2 separate regions of the Homo sapiens genome follow, and region 1 is linked to region 2. Evidence: promoter capture Hi-C in human tissues and cell types (Jung and others, 2019). All regions are on one chromosome and are shown on one strand. Each heading gives the region's core, a stretch centred on a gene start or on the middle of the fragment in contact. The rest is flanking DNA. Distances are from core to core; before and after follow the strand shown.

Region 1 (4,086 bases), core at 488-2,987, 210 kb after region 2:
TTCAGGAAAAGATTTGAATTCCTTAATCAAGCAAGGACAAAGGCTAAGAGACGAACGGTCAATATTAATAGAAGCAAGGATTAGAAATTAGTTGGTGGCTTAACTGATATTTTTAGAATCCACTAGAAAGGGATAAGGAATCTAAAAACAGGAGCGTGGTAAATGCTACATAATTCAGCACCGGATCACGGTTAGCTTAATGTCCTTTGTAAAGAAACGATTACAAATTATGTGGGAGGACTTAGCTGTAAAACTGCTGGAAAAGCAGAATTTGATCAGAGACAGGCAGCCTAGATTTATGAGAAGAAACAGGCCCGTGCGTCGCGTTGGAGATTTTAAAAGATATTATATTTATGACAGACAATGAGGGTGCTTTGTGTGGCCTACATCTGTGAAGAATTTGCTAATACCGGACTTAGAGATTTATTCTGAAGGTAAGTAGTGGGAACAGAGGTAAGAAGAAATCCCGCACCTCCAAAGCCCCACGTCTCCTTCAGGCAGGTGCCCTTTGAACGACACTGGAGGCAAAGCGAGAACGGTCCGTGGGTCGTCTCCCGTGCCGTCCACTCAGCCCAGCACGGCGGGGGGCCTGGTCACGGATTCCTATGCGTGTGAGTGGTGGATTAATCTCGTTTCACCAACACCTGGTCACACAGGAAGCCGGGGCAGTGAGGAACGGCTCCGACATGATGTCGAAATGACCCTCCTCACCCTTTCTTTTCAGTGGAGACAGCAGGGATTTCTGTGTCTTGTAGAGTCCTTGAGGAAGCCGTAGGCCACGGAAGTGTCTGGTCTCAGGCGGTCCTTTGAGAGGCAGCTGGTGAACGTCCCCCAAGGAGACAGAGCCTCTGGGGACAACAGGGGCTTTCATCTGGGAGCAGTGAGGACCCCCGAGGGGGCGTGGCAGGGAGGGGGCAGGACTGCTCAACTGGGCGGCTCCACGGGGCTGTGGGGCCTGGAGGCAGGCAGGCAGGTAGGGCAGGGCCCGAAGGAAAGCGGTATGGGGGCCCGAGGCTTACAGAGCCAGTGCTCAGCGGTTCCCGGAGCAACTCAGGGCCCAGCAGGCGGAACTGAAGGGAGCCACGATCAGGAAGAGGCAGGAACGTCCCCTCCCACCACCCCATCAGGCCTCAAACTGGGAGTCCCCGCTAGAGCAAAAAGACCGGAAAAGGAAATCACCAGTATACAGATTGGGAAGGAAGAAATAAAACTTCTTTGTTCACAAATGACGTGATTGCAGAAAATCCTACAGAATCCAAAAAGGAAAAGAAAAGAAAAACACAATTTTTGGAACTCATGAGCAAATGTAGGGTACAAGGTTATGAAACAAAAGTCAGTTGCTTTCCTATACATCGGTGACACACAGCATTTGAAATTAAAGACAGGCCGGGTGCGGTGGCTCATGCCTGTAATCCCAGCACTTTGGGAAGCCGAGGCAGGTGGATCACCTGAGGTCAGGAATTCAAGACTGGGCTGGGCAACATGGTGAAACCCCGTCTCTACTAAAAATACAAAAATTAGCCAGGTGTGGTAGTGCGTACCTGCAGTCTCAGCTACTCGGGAGGCTGAGGCAGGAGAATCACTTGAAACCGGGAGGGGCAAAGTGGGCAAGGGATATGAAGAGACATTTTTCAAAAGAAGGCAAACAAATGGCCAAAAGGTATATGAATGATGCTCAGCATCACTAATCATCAGAGAAACTCAAATTGAAACCACAAGGCCAGGTGTGGTGGCTCATGCCTGTAATCCCAGCACTTTGGGAGGCTGAGGCGGGTGGATCACCTGAGGCCAGGAGTTCGAGACCAGCCTGGGCAACATGGTGACGCCCCATCTCTACTAAAAATACAAAAATTAGCCAGGCATGGTGGCGGGCGCCTGTAATCCCAGCTACTTGGGAGGCTGAGGCAGGAGAATTGCTTGAACCCAGGAGGCGGAGGTTGCAGTGAGCCAAGATCATGCCATTGCACTTCAGCCTGGGAGACAAGAGCAAAACTCTATCTCAAAAACAAACAAACAAACAAACAAACAAACACTCTCTAAAAAATAAATTAAATAAATGAATAAGTATTTTCTGAATGAGTGAATGCATTTGGCTAAAAACAGAAGCCATGCTCGGAATATTTGGAGGGTTCAGAGTTTGAGACCTGTCTCCTATTGAGCCTGGGCAAGTTTGCTTAGGGCAGGAAATGAACCCCTTTCCTACTTGCATGGGGAACACAATGGTAAGACCGGGCTTGGAGGGAGGGTGGCGTCCATTTAGCTCTGCACACCGTCCCTTACCCCGCTCAGCGTAGACATCACCTCTGCTGCGAACTCCCCCAGACTCAGGGAGCCCTGGAACCACAGCACTCAGCACCCGGATGCGCTGCTCTTGCAGACACAGACCCGTGGCTACTGCCGATGCGCAGCCTTCTGGATAAATCCTATGCACTGGATGACTTGCTCTCCAGGAGCCATGATTTGCTCCTGGGAAACTGGGGAACGAGATCCAATTCTCCTTCGGTCAACACGCTGCCACCAAGTGGTAAGAGGCAGGAAAGACACCTGTTCTAGCAGCCGACCCGGTCCTGGAGGGATGAGAACCTCCTTTACAAAGCTTTACTTTCTTTTCTTTTCTGTTTTGAGACAGGGTCTCACTCTGTCACCCAGGCTGGAGTGCAGTGATACACTGTCAGCTCACTGCAGCCTCCACCTCCTGGGCTCAACTGATCCTCCTGACTCAGCCTCCCCCATAGCTGGGACCACAGACACACACCACCACACCTGGCAAAGTTTTTCTTTTGTATTTTTTTGTAGAGACAGGGTCTCTCTATGTTGCTCAGGGTGATCTCAAACTCCTGGGCTCAAGCGATCCTCCCACCTCAGCCTCCCAAAGTGCTGGGATTAGAGGCTTGAGCCACTGCTCCCCACTGAAGGTTTTCCATTGTGATTTGCTCCTGGGAAACTGGGGAAAAAGATCCAATTCTCCTTTGGTCAACACGCTGCCACCAAGTGGCAAGAGGCAGGCAAGACACCTGTTCCAGCAGTGGACGCCGCCCTGGAGGGATGAGAACCTGAGTCCAGCTCAGCTGGGCCCATGGGAGGCACAAGGACTTTACCTCCGTTCAGGGTGTGGAGTGCCTGCCTTTCCTGGCGATATTGCAAAGCCCAGAGTCAGGCTTTTTTTTTTTTTTTTTTTGAGACAGAGTCTCACTCTGTCGCCCAGGCTGGAGTGCAGTAGCACGATCTCGGCTCACTGCAACCTCCGCCTCCCAGGTTCAAATGACTCTCCTGCCTCAGCCTCCCGAGTAGCTGGGATTACAGGTGCCCGCCACCACGCCCGGCTAATTTAGTATTTTTAGTAGAGACAGGGTTTTGCCATGTTGGCCAGGCTGGTCTCGAACTCCTGGGCTCAATTGATCCTCCTGCCTCGGCCTCCCTAAGTGTTGGAATTGCAGGTGTGAGCCACCACACCTGGCATCATTCCTTTTTTTTCAGACGGAGTCTCGCTCTGTCACCCAGGCTGGAGTGCAGTGGCACGACCTCGGCTCACTGCAAGCTCTGCCTCCCAGGTTCACACCATTCTCCTGCCTCAGCCTCCCAAGTAGCTGGGACTACAGGCACCCACAACCACGCCCAGCTAATTTTTTTTTTTTTTTTGTATTTTTAGTAGAGACGGGGTTTCACCGTGTTAGCCAGGATGGTCTCGATCTCCTGACCTGGTGATCCACCCGCCTCGGCCTCCCAAAGTGCTGGGATTACAGGCGTAAGCCACCGTGCCCAGACTAATTTTTTCTATTTTTAGTAGACACGGGCTTTTGCCATGTTGGCCAGGCTGGTCTCGAACTCCTGACCTCAGGTGACCCACCTGCCTTGCCCTCCCAAAGTGCTGGGATGACAGGCGTGAGCCGCCGCACCCGGCCTCGGGTTCTGTGAGGTTCATCTGTGTGGCCATGTGCAGCAGTTTTCCTTGCTTCCTTATCGTGTAGTATTCCATGATGAGTGCATTTCACACCCACCCGTTCTGTGATGGGCATCTGGGCTGCTTCCTTGGTTTTTTGGTTTGTCTTTTATTTTTTCCCCTAGAGACAAGGTCTCACTCTGTCA
Region 2 (3,988 bases), core at 1,393-3,892:
GTCGGTAGCAACCAAATGTGGAAAGAAAATGCTCTCAGGAATGCAATCATGTATAACGCTATCGCTCAAGAAGAGGTTCCCAAGATTGTGAAACAGCTTTTGGTACAATTTCATCTGATAAGCCTCCATTTCAAGGGCAAACAATTCCACAGTCCTGAAAAACACAAGCTGAATCCCAGGCCTGAAAAAGACACACTGTAATGGCCTTTCAGGAAAAAAAAAGTTTTAATTGGAGTAGTGGGAGGTGGAAATCATAACGCTTAGCTGTACTCACCTCTCCATCCTGCATTCTAAATATTCTTTTGATTCCTTTCTGCACAAAGCATTTTCAAAATTATTGTTATGAAGACACTTCATGAATTTCTCTTTAAAGCTTTTACATTCACCTAGAACGAGAAAGAAAACAGCATGTTCTTTTCAGAGTGAAAAGTGATGCAACCACACAACAGCCTTAAGAGCTGCGCTGCTTTTCCTTTCAAAACTTGTTTCCTCAGGCCGGGCGCAGTGGTTCACACCTGTAATCCCAGCACTCTGAGAGGATCACCTGACCCCAGGAGTTTGAGACCAGCCTGGGCAACACAGTGAGACCCCCATCTCTACCAAAAAAAACCTTAAAAGTTAGCTAGGTGTGGCGCACGTCTGTGGTTCCAGCTACTCAGGAGGCTGAGGCAGGAAGATCGCTTGAGCAAAGGATTTCGAGGCTGCAGTGAGCTTGATCACACCACTGCACTCCAGCCTGGGCAACAGATCAAGACCTTGTCTCCTAAAAATAATCCAGGCTGGGCACGGTGGCTCACGCCTGTAATCCTAGCACTTTGGGAGGCAGAGGTGGGCGGATCACCTGAGGTCAGGAGTTCAAGACCAGCTCGGCCAACTTGGTGAAACCCCATCTCTATTAAAAATACAAAAATTAGCCGGGCATGGTGGCGGGTGTCTGTAGTCCCAGCTACTCGGGAGGCTGAGGCAGGAGAATTGCTTGAACCCAGGAAGCGGAGGTTGCAGCGAGTCGAGATCACACCACTGCACTCCAGCCTGGGTGACAGAGTGAGACTCCATTTCAAAAATAAATAAATAAATGATCCAGCCTGGTCAACATGGGGAAACTCCATCTTTAAAATAAAAAATAAAAAAACAATAATAATTAGCTGGGTGTGGTGTTGCACACCTATAGTCCCAGCTACTCTAGAGGCTGAGACAGGAGAATCGCTTGAACCCGGGAGGAGGAGGTTGCAGTGAGTCGAGATCACACCACTGCACTCCAGCCTGGGCGACACAGTGAGAGTCCATTTCAAAAATAAATAAATAAATAATCCAGCCTGGGCAACATGGGGAAACCCCATCTCTAAAAAAAAAAAAAAAAAAAAAATTAGCTGGGTGTGGCGCTGCACACCTATAGTCCCAGCTACTCTAGAGGATGAGACGGGAGACTCCCCTGAGTCCAGAAAGGAAGGAGGCCGAGGCTTCAGTGAGCTATGATTGCACCACTGCACTCCAGCCTAAGCAACAGAGTGAGACCGTGTCTCAAAACAAAAACAATCAAACCCAAACTTGTTTCCTTCATAAACATGCTGAAAACAACAATGGAAAAAACCCACAACGAGGTAAAGTCAGCCCAGTACGAGGTTAAGGTGCAATGTAGGTGATGGTCACAGGAGAGTTCAGGGTAAAAATTCTTTCATTTTTGCTATTTGAAAATGTCACAATAAAATGTTGGGAAAGAAACAGTAATTCACAGATCGTTTTTCTTTTCTTTTCTTTCTTTTTTTTTTTGAGACGTTGTCTCACTCTGTCGCCCAAGCTGCAGTGCAGTGGCCCGATCTCGGCTCACTGCAACCTCCGTCTCCCGGTTCAAGCGATTCTCCTGCCTCAGCCTCCCGAGTAGCTGGGACTACAGGCGAGCCACATCACACCCAACTAATTTTTGTATTTTTAGTAGAGACGGGGTTTCCCCATGTTGGGCAGGCTGGTCTCGAACTCCTGATCTTAAATGATCCGCCCACCTCGGCCTCCCAAAGGGCTGGGATCACAGGCATGAGCCACCGCGCCCGGCCCACAGATCCTTTTTCGAAGCCTTCATGTCCACGGAGGCAACCCCACCGGAATACGGCCAGAAGCACTGGGAGATCAGCAGCACTTTTGAGCTTTGCAGCAGACATCGCTAGGCACCGTCTAAGCCTCGGCTGCAGCTGCGGGCTTCGTGGCCGCCGAATGCCCCGCTCTGCAAACCCGGGGCACAGACAGCCCGCCGGGTGAGTCAGGGCGGAGCCGGAGACCCGGAAGCCTGACGCAAGGAGTCGGTGTCGCTGCCCTCGTCACGGGGGCCACGGTCCTGCCAGCTCCCACCTGCAGGGTCCATGCCGCAGCAGTGACCCAGGGCTGGGTGGGGCGGAGGGGCGGGCCGCCGTGCCTCAGTTTCCCCGCCTGCACCGCGCTAGATGCCGGCACCCCATAGGGCTCCGCGCTGGGCCGCGACCCAGACCCCCCATCGCAGACCCCTGCCCGCCGACCTTCCGCCGCTCACCTAAGTGATCCAGCGGGAAGCTGCCCTTGTCCGGGGGCCGCGGCTGGAAGCTCTTGGTCCCGAAATTCATGGCGGTCGACATGTTGGCGACTCCGGAGTCTGCGAGCGCCTTGCGAGCGTACGCAGGGCGGCCGGCGGAGCGCCGAGCAGGCACCCCGGGAGCGCCGAGCACGTCGAGCAGGCCCCGTCCCCGCCCCTTGCCCAGGCCCGGCCCCACCCCTTGCCCAGGCCCGGCCCCACCCCCTCGGAGTCAGCAAGCTCCTGAGCCCCGGTGGGCGCTGCCCGGGCTTTCCCGTCCCCTGGGACCCTCACAGCAGTCGGTAGCAGAATCAGCTTTTGGAATTGGTGAGAAACCGAGGCCCAGAAAGGTTCAGCGAATTGCCCGAGGACACATAGCGGTGCCGGCGTCTCTGCATCCCAGGTGTCTGCTGGGGCCTCGGTTTCCCCATCGCACAGAGACCTCATCACGGGGCCCATCCGGGGAGGAAGGCGGCACAGGAGGGACAGGAGAGCCTGTGGACTCGCTGCCTGCGGCTGCTGGAGCCAGGTGACACCACCGAGCAGCTTCAACAACAGGAATGTGCTCTCAGTCCTGGGGTCTGGAGTCCAAGCAGTGGGCAGAGTGGGGGCCCTGGGGACAGTCCCAGCCTCCCAGCTTCTGGGGGCCGCCAGCCTGTGAGGTTCCTTGGCTTGCAGAAGCACCACCTGGTCTCGGCCCCTACGTTCCCATGGTGTCCTGCGCATGTCCAAATTTACTATTTTTATTTATTTATTTGAGACAGGGTATTGCTCTGTTGCCCAGACTAGAGTGCAGTGGCATGATCACGACTCACTGCAGCCTCGACCTCCTGGGCTCAGCGATCCTCTCACCCCAGCCTCCTGAGTAGCTGCGACCACAGGCACACACCACCACACCAGGCTAATTTTTCTATTTTTCGTAGAGATGGAGTCTCCCTATGTTGCCCAGGCTGGTCCTTAACTCCTGGGCTCAGGCAATCCTCCTGCCTCAGCCTCCCTAAATGCCGGGATTATAGGCATGAGCCACCATGCCCAACCTAAATTTCCTCTTTTTATAAGGATAGCAGTCATGTTGGGTTAGGGGCCGTCCCAATAACTTCATCTTAACTAATTATATCAGCAGCAACCCTATTTCTTTGTTTTGTTTTTTAAAACGGAGTCTCTCTCTTGTTGCCCAGGCTGGAGTACAGTGGCTCGATCCTGGCTCATTGCAACCTCCACCTCCCAGGTTAAAGCAATTCTCCTGCCTCAGCCTCCCGAGTAGCTGGGATTACAGGCGCCACCAACACACCCAGCTAAGCTAATATATTTTTTTTCAACACAGAGTCTCACTTTGTAACCTAGACGGGCGTGCAGTGGTACGATCTCGGCTCACCGCAACCTCCACTTCCCGAGTTCAAGAGATTCTCCTGCCTCAGCCTCCAGAGTAGCTGGGATTACAGGCATGCG

The links. Contacts are between HindIII fragments. The study calls those that stand out against the background at their distance.
Region 1: a fragment that was not itself captured here is called in contact with the fragment with the promoter of COX19 in region 2 in 3 of the 25 tissues and cell types used here (IMR-90 fibroblasts, hippocampus and lymphoblastoid cells).

Annotation. Positions count from the first base shown.
Region 1 is chr7:1,180,665-1,184,750 of GRCh38, forward strand. No RefSeq gene overlaps it. Among named protein-coding and RNA genes, the nearest start is that of ZFAND2A-DT, 22 kb to the left of the region's middle. RefSeq lists an enhancer at 131-1,330. The HindIII fragment of the contact is 4,268 bases long and covers 1-3,871 here.
Region 2 is chr7:972,907-976,894 of GRCh38, forward strand. It overlaps COX19 (cytochrome c oxidase assembly factor COX19), which reads right to left and starts at 2,643. Exons shown (of 3, transcript NM_001031617.3): 1 at 2,522-2,643; 2 at 275-386. The coding sequence starts at 2,603. RefSeq lists enhancers at 1,866-2,748, 2,048-2,117, 2,749-3,629 and silencers at 2,358-2,517, 2,538-2,817. The HindIII fragment of the contact is 7,753 bases long and covers 1-3,988 here.